Regions from separate parts of the Homo sapiens genome. Here all the other regions are linked to region 3. Evidence: promoter capture Hi-C in 16 types of primary human blood cells and fetal thymus (Javierre and others, 2016). All regions are on one chromosome and are shown on one strand. Each heading gives the region's core, a stretch centred on a gene start or on the middle of the fragment in contact. The rest is flanking DNA. Distances are from core to core; before and after follow the strand shown. Region 1 overlaps EXOC8 (exocyst complex component 8). Region 2 overlaps TRIM67 (tripartite motif containing 67). Region 3 holds the start of COG2 (component of oligomeric golgi complex 2).

Region 1 (4,573 bases), core at 1,604-4,103, 690 kb before region 3:
GCCAAAGTGGAGGAGCGAGTTCGACAGCTCACTGAGGTGCTAGTTTTCGAACTCTCCCCAGATCGTTCCCTGAGAGGTGGTCCGAAGGCTACTCGCAGAGCAGTTTCGCAACTGATCCGGCTGGGCCAGTGCACGAAGGCCTGTGAGCTATTTTTGAGAAACAGGGCAGCCGCTGTTCATACTGCAATTCGTCAGCTTCGCATCGAAGGTGCCACTTTACTCTATATTCATAAGCTGTGCCATGTCTTCTTTACCAGCCTTCTCGAGACTGCAAGAGAATTTGAGATCGATTTTGCAGGCACTGACAGCGGCTGCTACTCTGCCTTTGTGGTCTGGGCAAGATCAGCCATGGGCATGTTCGTGGATGCTTTTAGCAAGCAGGTGTTTGATAGTAAGGAGAGCCTCTCTACAGCAGCTGAGTGTGTAAAAGTGGCTAAGGAGCATTGCCAGCAACTGGGTGATATCGGACTGGATCTCACCTTCATCATCCATGCCCTTCTGGTGAAAGACATCCAAGGGGCCTTGCACAGTTACAAAGAAATCATCATTGAAGCCACTAAACATCGCAACTCTGAAGAGATGTGGAGGAGGATGAACTTGATGACGCCAGAAGCCCTGGGTAAGCTCAAAGAAGAGATGAAAAGTTGTGGGGTAAGTAACTTTGAGCAGTACACAGGGGATGACTGCTGGGTGAACCTAAGTTACACAGTGGTTGCTTTCACCAAACAGACCATGGGCTTCTTGGAAGAGGCCCTGAAGCTGTATTTCCCAGAGCTGCACATGGTACTTTTGGAGAGCCTGGTGGAAATCATTTTGGTTGCTGTTCAGCATGTGGATTATAGTCTTCGATGTGAGCAGGATCCAGAGAAGAAAGCTTTTATCAGACAGAATGCATCCTTTTTATATGAAACAGTCCTCCCTGTGGTGGAGAAAAGGTTTGAAGAAGGTGTGGGGAAACCTGCCAAGCAACTCCAAGATCTGAGGAATGCATCTAGACTTATTCGTGTGAATCCTGAAAGTACAACATCAGTGGTCTAATGCTTGGGTCTGTTTATATGTGTATATATGCAGAGAGAGAGCTTATATATTATTTATATTTATATTAAGTTGTATTAGCATACTCTATAGTTTCAAACACAACTTGAAAATTAAAAGTGCCCTCTTAAAAATACAAAAATCAAAAAGAGGAAAATAAGTTAAATTAAGCCCAAGTAACAAAAATACTGGAATTATTAAAACGTATAGTATGCTAGCTATCCTTTTAAATTATGCTAATTCTCTTCTTCTGAAATTATGGTCACACTATATACTATAGCATTTCGGTTTTATCCTTTGATAAAACTTTTCTTTTTTCTTTTTTTTTTTTGAGACAGGGTCTCACCCCGTCGCACAGGCTGGAGTGCAGTGGCAAAGTCTCGACTCACTGCAGCCTTGACCTCCCGGGCCCAGGTAGTCCTCCCACCTCAGCCTCCCATGTAGCAGGAACCACAGGCAGGCACCACCATACCCAGCTAATTTTTGTATTTTTTGTAGAGATGGGGTTTCGCCATGTTGCCCAGGCTAGTCTTTTCTTTCTTCTTTTTTTTTTTCCCCACAGTATATATTATACAGCAGTCATAATATCTATAAATACATAGAGTTTATGTTGTGAAGTTTCCCAGTTCACTGAAATGTTAGGTTTCCTAAAGGGTACAGTGCCGTATAAAACAACCTGCCTCATATATTTCTCCTCAAAACGTTGGACTATTTGGGAAAAGGAAAAGAGTTGGGAAAATTGGTTTTAAGGTAAGTTTTAGTCAAAAGAATTCTTTCTTGAAACTAGCTGGTTTGTGGATTCAGATACTCTGATCCTTACAGAATCCAAGAGGAAGCTTTCATAAAAACAATTCAGCAAATATTTCCAATATAATTTGAATGGCTAATTTTCAGTTGCTAATTAATTAGCAGCTTTGTAATACTTGATTTGGGAGCATTTACTTGGAAATCCTAAGGACTATAATAAAAGTTTTCAACATATTTCTAAATTGTGTGAGTTTCCAGCTGTAGCTTTTGTCTTTGTCACATTTTAAAAAATAATAAGCAAGACACATTGGGGACACTGGCAGCAGTTGCCAGGTTTTAGCTGCCACCGCTTCAGTATGAGATATAGCTGTCCCATCTTCCCCCATTCAGGGTAGGAGATATAGTGACCCAGACTTCATGCAAATGGAAAAAAAGTTTTAACTGAAATATTTATTTAGATTTCAGGGTCTAGATGGATGGGAAAGTAGAAAAACATATGCAAATCTCAGTGTTCTCACTATGACCACTCTGAGCAGAGATTTGGTTTTGTTTCCTTTTGTAACAAAGTGAAAACAGGTGAGACAATGTGCCCAAAACAAAGGGAAGAAGAGAACCTTCTGTGACTCCTAAAATGTTCCATGCTGCATTTTTGTTTCATTTTTTATTTTTCCTTGCTTTGTTTTTAAACATGAATATAATGCTTACTTCAAATTGTTTAGTAAAACAAAATAACTAAAGAAATGTGAGCTTCCCAAGGTTTCTAAACTATCGCTGTTGTATATTCTATAGCGTTCCTTATTCTTTGAGGGAAACTGTGCTTGCTGTGATCCATTTTGTCTCTAGCTTCTAGTTGTGATTCTTGTCCATAAGCACCAAATTTGATGCCCATGATTTCAAAAGGTCATTTCTTTTATCTGAATGAAAATGGTGGTACTAAGACTGTGAAAATTATGTGAAACCTAAAGTAGTTGCCAAAGTGGCTCAGGGTTGTAAAATTCATTGACTTAATTATTCATGTGCCAGATCAACCCCTTTATTTTCTCTTTAGCTGTGCATATTTAAAATATTGGAAAGTATCAGATTTACAGATTTTCTTTGACTAATTTTTTTCACATAACTTTAGGATTTTCGAAAGTTGTAACCATAACTGGATATCTTAGCTGAGCAAAGGCGGTTATAATTTGTCTTTTTAAGATCACTGGAAATTGATAAAATTTTGTGATAATTATGATTATTCTGTGCCATTTACAGTTTCTAATACTATACTGTATGAAATATGTATAAATATATGATGCTGAGTCTGTGGAATGATACTTCTGAAATCAAAATTCCTCATAAGGCATGAAGTTGTAAAAACTTGAATGTGTATAGTTAGATATTTAAATGGTTGCTTCTTCATAGAATTGTCTGCTTTTTAAAACTGGAAGTACAGGATTTTCTTCAGGTAAAATCTGTGTGTTCCAATTACAGTTGTAGCTGAAGGAAGTATGCTTTGGTGAGTCAATTAGTATGGGAACTTGACTAAAGACCCCCAGTGTTGTAACGTACCTTTGTACCCAGACAAAACAATTATGTTACATTCCTCAAAGTGGCATGGGCTTTCTTCTCTAATTCTTCTGTTTTATTAGACCCAAGACAAGTTCTAAAAATTGAATGCAATGAGAGATTGTCCAGAAATGTAATATATACTAAAATATACCACTTAAGCATTGATTGCCTTTTCTTGTTTGCTTCAAGAATATAAAACTTGTTACTTGAGCTTGGAATCATGGGCTTGATTGAATTAATTACTCTTGGGGAAAAAAGACACCTTGTGGCATTAAGTCTTGCTTTGGTTAAAGCCTTATTTCACATAATTGCTAAAAACTCATTTTTGTTTAATATACTACCTATAGTTTAATTATCGGCACTTGTATTTTGTAACTTGATATCTTACCTAGGATTGGGAATTTGGGACATGACATGTACTATAAAAGTCAGTCTATGTACATACTGCTTATTGATGTGCTGTGATATGAGGGAATCTGAAATGTTTCATAAAAATAAAGCTTAAAAATTGTCTTACACTGGATAAAAGTGATATTAAGATATTATATCTATTGCTCTTCTTTAGTTGGTATTCAATATTTTTATATTCTTGTTACTGAAATATTCTTTGAAGACCCTAGTTTTTTGTTTTATTTATGTGGGGAGGATACTTAGGAAGCTGTTTGCTAAATTAAGTAAGTGTTCTGCTTACCGTCAGAATTGTGAATAAATCAGATCTCAATTTTTTAAAATTCCCTCGAATGGAAAATTTCAGAGGTACAAAATGTGAATTTATTATAAAAAAGTAGATTTTATACCATCTGCACATCTCTAAATAAAGAAAATAAAATGTAGGCCACAAGACCTAGGAACTAAATGACAAGGCTTGGCCTTTTTTTTTTTTTTTGAGACAGAGTCTTCCCATATCGCCCAAGCTGGAGTGCAGTGGCGTGATCTCTGCTCGCTACAATCTCTGCCTCCTGGGTTCAAGCCATTCTCCTGTCTCAGCCTCCTGAGTAGCTGGGATTACAGGGGCCCGCCACCATGCCCGGCTAATTTTTTTATTTTTAGTAGAGATGGGGTTTCAACATGTTGGCCAGGCTGGTCTCGAACTCCTGATCTCAGGTGATCCACCCGCCTCGGCCTCCCAAAGTGCTGAGATTACAGGCGTGAGCCACCATGCCCGGCCAGGCTTGCCCTTTTGAAAGTAATATGTATATCCTGAGGAAACTATCACATATTTAAAAGTATTGAATGCTATGCT
Region 2 (4,317 bases), core at 1,289-3,788, 550 kb before region 3:
GCTGACTGTTGAGTACATGAAATATCAGAGAGAACCTGAAGAAGGGGACAGAGCTGGAGACCTGAACAGGGTCAGGGCTAGTCACTGTCATTGGTCACTTCTGCTCTGCAAAATGAGAACAAGAATAGTCCCTTAGACAGAAACAGGGAGGGAGAGGGTGGACTTCTGACTTGAAACCCTCAGGACACAGGGCATATTGATTGGTCTCTGTCAGGTCACATGAATGTAACCGAACCAGCTGGTGCATCCCTTCCTTGCCTCATTCATTCATTAGCTCATTCATTCACTCACTTAGCTGTTATTTCCCCAGTGCCTACTCTGTGCTCCACCCCACGCTGGGTGCAGAGGATGTGGCAGGGATTCAATGTGTCAGTCCCCCAGGTACCTACCTTCAACTTGTGTTCCCTCTCTTTAGTCACCTTGGTGAGCAGCTTGGCTTTCTGACGAGTTAAAGCATCCACAAGGGCATCACACTGAGCAACGAGGCAGGCTTCGTAGTCCAGTCCGTTTTCCTGGCAGAGGTTGGGGGTTGGTTGGGAAGAAGCAAAGAGTTTTAGGGGGAAGATGCTAAAATCTGGTGAGTGCTATAGACAAAGATATATTTCAGAGAAGTTCATCCTAGATTTCTCTATAATGTTGTTAAATTAGAGACAATATTTATATGAATTAAGGCAGGTACTATGAATCTCATCACAGCCATATGGCAGAATATTCTGTAGTCATTCAAATCTTGTTCATAGGGCACTTTTAATGCCATGAGAAAATGCTCATGAGAGACTGTTAAGAAAGAAAAAAAGTCAGGATACACGTTATTCACAGCATAATCTCATACATTGTGTGTGTGTGTGTATGTGTGTTTAAAGTAATAGAACAGGCCCGGCGCGGCAGCTCATGCCTATAATCCCAGCACTTTGGGAGGCCAAGGCGGGTGGATCACCTGAGGTTGGGAGTTGGAGACCAGCCTGACCAACATGGAGAAACCCCGTCCCCACTAAAAATACAAAATTAGCTGGGTGTAGGGGCACATGCCTGTAATCCCAGCTACTCAGGGGGCTGAGGCAGGAGAATTGCTTGAACCTGGGAGGCGGAGGTTGCGGTGAGCTGAGATCGTGCCATTGCACTATAGCCTGGGCGACAGAGTGAGACTCTGTCTCAAAAAAAAAAGAATTCAGTCCCTCTTATTCCTCCAGATATGTTAATGCTTTCTCATCTTATGAGCAGTTCCTCTATGTGTGCACATTCACACAGGAGCACCTGTGTGTGCACGTTCTCCCCTATAGACAGACCCTGAGGCACACATGGTGCCTCATTGATCTTTGTATCTTGTGCTGGGCTCAGTACATGACACAGCATAAGAGTTCAGTAAACACATTTGTTTAGAAAATGATGCATTTATATTTTGATGCATTGATGACATGGGCATATTCGGCCACAAAAGCACCATATACAGATGCCACAAAGGACGACGACATGGCACGTAGAGTGCTAGATCACATCTTTCCAGCTCTCTCTAATTGGCTCCATGTAAAAGTCCTTTCCTGTATCAGGTGTCACTTGTGTGCCAATGAGTTGAATATGTGACACTTTCAGCACCCAAGGCTATAGGGTAGGACACATAAACCTTCTAATGTCCATCACTGAGAAAATGCTTGCTACAAGACTTTTCCTTTCTTCTTCTCCTTCTTCTCCTTCTCCTTCTCCTTCTCCTTCTTCTTCTTCTTCTTCTTTTCTTTGAGACAGACTTTCTCTCTTGTTGCCCAAGCCAGAGTGCAATGGCACAATCTCGGCTCACTGCAACCTCCGCCTCCCAGGTTCAAGTGATTCTCCTGCCTCAGACTCCAGAGTAGCTGGGATTACAGGCATGCGCCACCACGCCCGGCTAATTTTTGTATTTTTAGTAGAGACGGGTTTCTCCATGTTGGTAAGGCTGGTCTCAAACTCCCAATCTCAGGTGATCTGCCCGCCTCGGCCTCCCAAAGTGTTGGGATTACAGGTGTGAGCCACCGTGCCCCGCCTCTTTCTTCTTAATACGATGCACAACGTGCAAACTTTCAACACTGAGTATTTCTCCCGACGCCAGAGCTGTGCTCACCTGGATCTGCTGCAATATGTTCTTTAGCTGAACCAGAAACTCCTTTGCTTCCTTTGCCTTATCTGAAACTCCATTTAAGGCCTGAGATAGTTGTGCCTGAAAAAGATATCACATGTTGAAAAGAAAAATTAGTTGTGAAAGGCACAGAAAATTTGCACTTCATCATAAAAGCTTATGTTTATAAGAGGGGATAGGACTGATCCCACGCATCTGCTGTTCTCATTGATGAAGGGACCACCACTGACCCATGATCTCTACAACATTTGTTTATTTTTCCAACAGTGGTAGATTGGCCTGCACTCTCCTTTCTCATCCCCAAAGCTGGATAGAGGTAAGGAGCACTCAGCTAACGGGTTGAAGCAAACAGGTCTGCCCCTGATGTTTGTAGAGCCCAAGACAAGAAGATAAATAGAGTCCTTGGCTTGGCCTGGCCCCCTCTATCCATAATCAGTACATGCCTGTATGGACATTCCAGACCCCAGGTCAGGTTCCGTCCACCCCATCCCTACACAGTCATCTCCTGGCCTGGGGTGCAAACCCTGGGGCCTGGTATGCCCTGAGGGATGGACAGGAAGGGGGCTGTGGGTCCTGGAACTGGACTAGGTGTATGGACTGGTAATCCTAGGGCATCCTCTAAAGGGGCATACAGGCTCCTAGCCTGGTACCCTTAGCCCTGGGGACTCCTCACCCTGCAGAGAGGGGTGTGACCAGCAGAAGCTTCTGAAGCATGAGGATCAGTTGCTGTGGCCCAAGGGTGAAATTGCAAGCTGAGCTCAAATCTATGGCTTTTGGCACCAGGCTTTTTTGTAACGAACCACATACACACACAATTGAATTTGTCTTTAAAACCTAGCTATTGAGTAGACTGTGACCTTGATTTTTTTTTTTTTTGAGACAGGGTCTCACTGTGTTGCCCAGGCTAGAGTGCAGTGGCTCAATCATGACTCACTGCAGCCTCAACCTCTCAGGCTCAAGTGATCCTCCCAAATCAGCCTCCAGCTAATTTTTGCATTTTTTAGTAGAGATGGTGTCTCGGAGGCTGTGTTGCTCAGGCTGATCTCAAACTCCTGGTCTCAAGTGATCCTTCCACCTTGGCCTCCCAAATTGCTGGGATTACAGGTGTGAGCCATCACGCCCATCCAGACTGTGACCCTGATTTTTACATGACTCTCATTTTCCACATTAAAAAGCTGAGGATAGAACAAAGCAGAGTCAGAAGGGCCAGGGTCTCCTTCTCCCCCAAGTCCCCTCCCAGGTCTCTGCTCAGACGTCACTGTGTCAGTGAGGACTTTCCTCACGACCTTGTGCAATATCCCCCTCGCCTTCCCCTGGCTTATTCTTCCTCCTAACAGTCGTCACCACCCAACCTAGAAAACTTGTTTGCTGTCCATCTCCATGTCCTAGAATGAAGGACAAGGGCTTTGCTGGGTGGCTCACAGCTTATCCCGGCACTGGAAGAGTACCCGGCACATGGTGGCATTCAATAAATATTTGTTGAATGCATGAATCAGTGAATGGGATTCTTTAGACCACACCAACGGTTGTCAAAGTGTGGTTCTAGACCAGCAACATCAGCATCACTGGGCGATTTGTTGAAGTGCACCGTCTCTGGCTGCACCCCAGATCTGCTGATCAGAGGTCGTGGGTGAAGCCCTGGAGTCTGCGGTTTACCAAGCCCTCCAGGGGGTTCTGATGCAGTTTGAGATCCCCTGGACTGTGCAAGTGCAGCCTCCACTGAAAACCTATGGAGAAGATGGCAAAGGAAGCCCACAAAAAGACACAGGGAGTAGGTGGAAATACAAGGAAGGGGGCCCGGTCCCCAGGAGCACCAGCACGCAAGGAGAGGTCAAGGTCTAGGCTGTCTGCTCAGAGAGAGCAGGAGCCTTAGGCTAAGGATCAGCGGAGGTGCAGCTCCTTGGAGAAGCTTTTTCCTACACCATGAGCCTCACCACTCCCAGCCCCACCTCAGTGGGTTTAGGCTCTCCACTCCATAGCTGGCCCACAGTGTACCACCATCTGTTGCCAGCACCTAGGCAGTGAAACATCCCATAGAATATACAGTGATGGCAGAAGCGTCTCAGGTCTGCTCTGTCCCTGACGGTAGCCGCTAGCTGCCTGTGGGTACTGAGCACTTGAAGTAGCTAATGTGACTGAGGAGCTGGACTTTTCATATTATTTAGGGTAAGTTGCAACTGCCATGTGTGATTAGCCAGTGGCTAGTCCTG
Region 3 (4,628 bases), core at 568-3,067:
ACAGAACAGCTGTTCTATGTATTTTCTTCTATGTATGTTGTCACTTTTATAAGCACTACAAAATGTACCGCATATTCACAGAGCCACGAAATATGCAATTGCTGGCATTCCAGCCACCACCCCAGTTTGCACTCTAAGTTCTATTTTAGAACTTGTATTTCTGTGATTTCACTTCCTGAAGCTGCATTTACCAAAGGCATTCTGTCAACTCAGAGTGGGAAAGGTGGTGGGGCTAGTGAGTCAGAGAAGATGCTGGTGTTGAGCCTTAAGAAGTCAAGAGATGGACAAACTGAGATTATTCTGTACTCTGAGATTCTTGACGTCAACAAGGCCCCTGATCTCCGTGTATGGCCTTTCCTCTTCCAGGGCACCTCTCCCCAGCATGTACCCTTAGCTGTTTCTTTCTACCCTCATTTCAGGGTAGCTCTTAGCCAGTAGGCAAAACGAAGGGTTTCTGGATCAATGAGTTGATTCTGTACATTCTTTGAGACATCCTAATGAAGTTACACCTTTTAGTACAGTGGTCTAATAGGAATATCACTTACAAGAATAAGGTACATTATTCCTGGGTATAGATAAGTCCTACATACGAAAAATGATATGGTCACACTGGAGAAGATACAGATCTACTTTAAAAAAAAACAGCTTTGGAGATGTAATCTGAATGCAAATATTATCAAAAAGAGATAGGCTAATTAATCTAGAAAACATTATGTCACCAAGAAAGGCAGAGTAAGATTTCAACTCACTTGCTCAAAATTGTAGATGTCTACTAACCAGCTAAAACTTTTCGCTTTTTAACACTGAAAGCAGCTACTAAAAGGTGTCAAAAATCCTAGTCCTCAGGAAATTAAATAGAAACATTTTTTGAATGGCTTAAGTGCAGACCCAGAGGGATACACCAAGTAGGAGCAAAGCTCCTCCCAGCTCTCACTCAAAGCCTGGCCATTTTCAAGGCTGTGCCTGATGAACTTTATCATCAGTGAAGTGTTTTCAGTTTATATTTCTTTTCTCTAAGTTTATGACCTACAACTACCAACTTCTTCAAATGCATCACGTAAAAAGTAGAGCAACTTCTTTAAAGAGTAATGGTTTGCTTTGTCGTACTGCAATAGTCGGTAAGAATGTTCTAAGCTTCTAAATATCCCATTCTGGAAGCTTTAGCTGAATGTTAAGCAAAACTTCAGATTAAGTTCTTTTTCTTTCCGACCCGAGTCCCTAGGAAAGTACGTGGGCTTGGAGATTTATTCAACACACACTTAATGAGCTCCAAGGCCCCGGTCCACAAGCTTCTTTCCGACAAGGGGACTGGCAATCTGACTGCACTGCATGGTAACAGGAACGGGTAACAGTGGCTTTGACATGCAGCTCAAAACCACTTGCCCAGAACTTTCAGGCCTTTCCATGTAACACGCACGATTTTACAGAAGTGCTTTCTCCAGGCTGCACCCGCCAAACCTGACGCCAAAAGACTCATTGCGAAGTGCAGCGAGGTCTCGGCGGAGGACCTGACACTGAGCGTGCGCAGGCAGGAGCAGCCGACCGAAGAGACCGCCACAGAGGGCACAGGGCAGAGGCACCCTCATGGCCCGGCTCCGGGGAGCGGACGCCGCGCGCACCTTCATGAACTCGTCCTTGTCGAAGCAGAGCGTGTCCGGCCCCTTGGGCAGGTTCATCCTACTTTTCTCCATCCCGCCGGCCACCGCCTCTCAGTGCCAAGATCCAAGCGAGAAAACGCAGGAGGCTGCGCAGACCGACTCGGCGGCCGCGGCCACCGCCAGTTTCCACGGCACAGGGGGGTCCGCTTCCGCCAACATGGCAGCGCCCGCGCCGCGGCCAATGAACGACGGCACCGCAAGCCGGCCTGCGCCTGGCTCTGGCCAAGAGGGGCGCGGGGGCCGCCGCTGCTGCACGGGTAGGCCGTGCTGCCCTCATGTGGCGGAGGGCGGTACTGCAGCCTCGCGCGGGCTCCTGCAAGGCTGCCCACCTCCCTAGGAGGCGTGGCTGAGCTGCAGGGGTGGGTCAAAAGGGGTGAGCGGGTCTCCCTCCCACCCCCACCGTTTCTACTGGGAAAAATTGTCCTACAACGCTTTTCCAGTGCCTTCTACCCTGAGACTGCTCTGCTTCGTTATGCATGGCCAGAAGTTGGCCCTTTGGTTCTCAGGCCCGTTTTCCAGGTTGGACGTATCACCGTGGTCGCATTCTTCACCTCCCTGTGCGCGGTCACTGCCGCTGGTGGGCGCTAACGCCTCTATGGAGACCCCCGCCCTTAGCCTCTGTCCCCACAGAGAAGTGTAGCGTCTCCTCCACTGGGCTCCGTTACTGGGAACTCATAGGGAAGAAGGTGGTCAGCTAGGCGGCTTTGGGTCCTCTGAGTAGCTCCCTGCTCAACCTCGGTCTCCGTTCCAGGTGGGCAGCCTCTGAGCGCAACTTTGGGTCTTCAAGGTGCTTAAAGGAGTGCCTCGCTATCTGATTAAACACAGCAGACAAATACATGTGCATGCACATTTATTTTTAATTTCAACCAGGAATGGACAAATTTTTGTGTTGTGGCCAGTACTGGTGCAACCAAACCAATTTCTTAGACTGTCTTCCTCCTCCTCCCCCCACCCACCCCAATTTTATTCTGAGACGTTCTTCCTTTATCTCCTCCCTTGCTTTTTTCTCCTCTTGTCCCTTCCGCTAGCTGTAAATACCGTGGTCAAATGATGATGATTCATTTTTCTTCTTTTCTCCTTGACATTCGGATGATTCAAACCACAAACCTCACTTCACACTCTTCATTCTGCAAACCTTTCCTTCCCGCTTCTGTTGAGGAATCTAGGCCTCTCTTCCCAATTTTTCTCCTTGGAGATAAGATTAACGCCATGATGGCCTGTAAAAAGGAATGGGACAGCAGAGGGTAAGACCTCACCATGAGACTTTGTATTTCAAGTATCTCAACTAGAAAACTGGTCACTTAAAAAAAAATGTAGGCGTAGAATCCAAAACGCTCTACTCCCTAGCACTGGACCTAGCAGGCCCTGTTGAAGAGCCTATTTCCTGCCAGTATCTACAGAACAGATGAACAGGATAAGAGCCGGAAGCTAGCTGGAGGATCAAAATATTCTGCCAGAGGAGCGATTGGGAAAAGTACATCCTAAGTCCCTGTTATGTTTGTTTTGCTGGAGGAAATGAAAACCTCATTTTCTGTTTAATTTTTTGTTTTCTCTTGTTATGAAAATTTTCAAGTACACAGAAGTGTGGAGAGCACAAGAACCCCACCCTATGTACTTAGCACCTCGCTTCAACCATCATCAACCTGTCTCCTCTGCCCTTCCCCACCCACCGCATCGAGACCTTCTTTTTTTGTTGTTTTATATATATATATATATACATATATATATATATTTTTTTGAGACGGAGTTTCACTGTTGTTACACATGCTGGAGTGCAATGGCATGATCTCTGCTTACCGCAACCTCCACCTCCCAGGTTCAAGCGATTCTCCTGCCTCAGCCTCCCGAGTAGCTGGGATTACAGGCATGTGCCACCATGCCTGGCTAATTTTGTACTTTTAGTAGAGATGGTGTTTCTCCCTGTTGGTCAGGCTGGTCTCGAACCCCTGACCTCAGATGATCCACCCGCCTCAGCCTCCCAAAGTGCTAGGTTTACAGGCATGAACCACTGAGTCCAGCCCTTTTATTGGAATATGTTTTAAAGCAAATTCTAAACACCATATCATTTCCTATCCCCTAATACCTCAGTTTACGCATCAAAAGAAGAAAAAAAAACCCTGACATTTTGTAACACCTAACAAAACCAGCAATTCCAATAACCAATCTATAGTGGCTCTGAAAGGTGGGCCTTTATCCCAAGGTCACACTGTTAATAAGTGGCAAGTTGCAAACCCAGGCAGCCTGGCTTCAAAGCCCAGTACCAAGGCACGGGAGAGGATGCTGGACAGATGAAACAAAGATGTCTGCAACCCTGCCTTCTCTTTCGAGGCTCTGCAGGAAGTCTAGGTAAGCTGGAACTTGAACTCTTTCTTTCTTCACTGTAATTCCCTTCTGACATTGTTCCTGGGACTTTAGAAATAAAATGAACCTGAATTTGTACAGACTGGGCTTATCTTGAGGATGCTAAAGGGATTAAGTGGCAACAGCGATGGAGGGTCCCTGCTGCCTGCTGTCCTCCCTAGATTCAGAAGGGAACCATCAGGACCCCATGGAGTGGGCTGCGGCTTGGAGACACAGATAGTGGTGCAGACCACCACAGCCAGGCGCAACAAGAAAGACTTCAATGCTAGCATCATAATCTACAGAGGACAAACGCAAGAGAGAAAGCCTACACCTGCCCAGAGGACATGGCCCTGGGTTTCCACTCAGAGCTGATGTTCAACTGGCACACAGTATTTCAGCTGTGCTACTTGGTAAATATTGCAACATCTCAAAGGTTGGTGAATGGCCTCTGTACAGAATCTGCTGCTGCCCTGACCCCTACCTTGGCCTCATGATCCAGCCATTAGAGGGTTACTGCCTGGCTTAGCGGGGCTCCTCTAGCCAGCTTCTGATTGGCTAGTGTCTGTGCTGTTAAATATTTGTCTGCTGTTAAATATTTGAATGTCATCTCTGGTAGTGATACTTATT

What was found. Contacts are between HindIII fragments. The CHiCAGO score rates a contact against its expected background, and 5 or more counts as called.
Region 1: a contact is called between a fragment that was not itself captured here and the fragment with the promoter of COG2 in region 3, in 2 of 17 cell types (fetal thymus and naive CD8 T cells). The highest score is 5.8, in fetal thymus.
Region 2: a fragment that was not itself captured here is called in contact with the fragment with the promoter of COG2 in region 3 in 1 of 17 cell types (megakaryocytes); the score reaches 5.1 in megakaryocytes.

Annotation. Positions count from the first base shown.
Region 1 is chr1:231,332,033-231,336,605 of GRCh38, reverse strand. EXOC8 (exocyst complex component 8) reads left to right here. Exons shown (of 1, transcript NM_175876.5): 1 at 1-3,853. The coding sequence ends at 1,038. Among named protein-coding and RNA genes, the nearest start is that of EXOC8, 3.5 kb to the left of the region's middle. The HindIII fragment of the contact is 1,959 bases long and covers 1,874-3,832 here.
Region 2 is chr1:231,195,242-231,199,558 of GRCh38, reverse strand. TRIM67 (tripartite motif containing 67) reads right to left here. Exons shown (of 10, transcript NM_001004342.5): 2 at 2,093-2,188; 3 at 390-512. Among named protein-coding and RNA genes, the nearest start is that of TRIM67-AS1, 9.8 kb to the right of the region's middle. The HindIII fragment of the contact is 546 bases long and covers 2,266-2,811 here.
Region 3 is chr1:230,639,670-230,644,297 of GRCh38, reverse strand. It overlaps COG2 (component of oligomeric golgi complex 2), which reads right to left and starts at 1,817. Exons shown (of 18, transcript NM_007357.3): 1 at 1,620-1,817. The coding sequence starts at 1,691. It overlaps LOC124904545 (a long non-coding RNA gene), which reads left to right and starts at 3,601. Exons shown (of 2, transcript XR_007066935.1): 1 at 3,601-4,004; 2 at 4,181-4,628. RefSeq lists silencers at 151-270, 1,884-2,023 and an enhancer at 1,574-1,793. The HindIII fragment of the contact is 12,366 bases long and covers 1,292-4,628 here.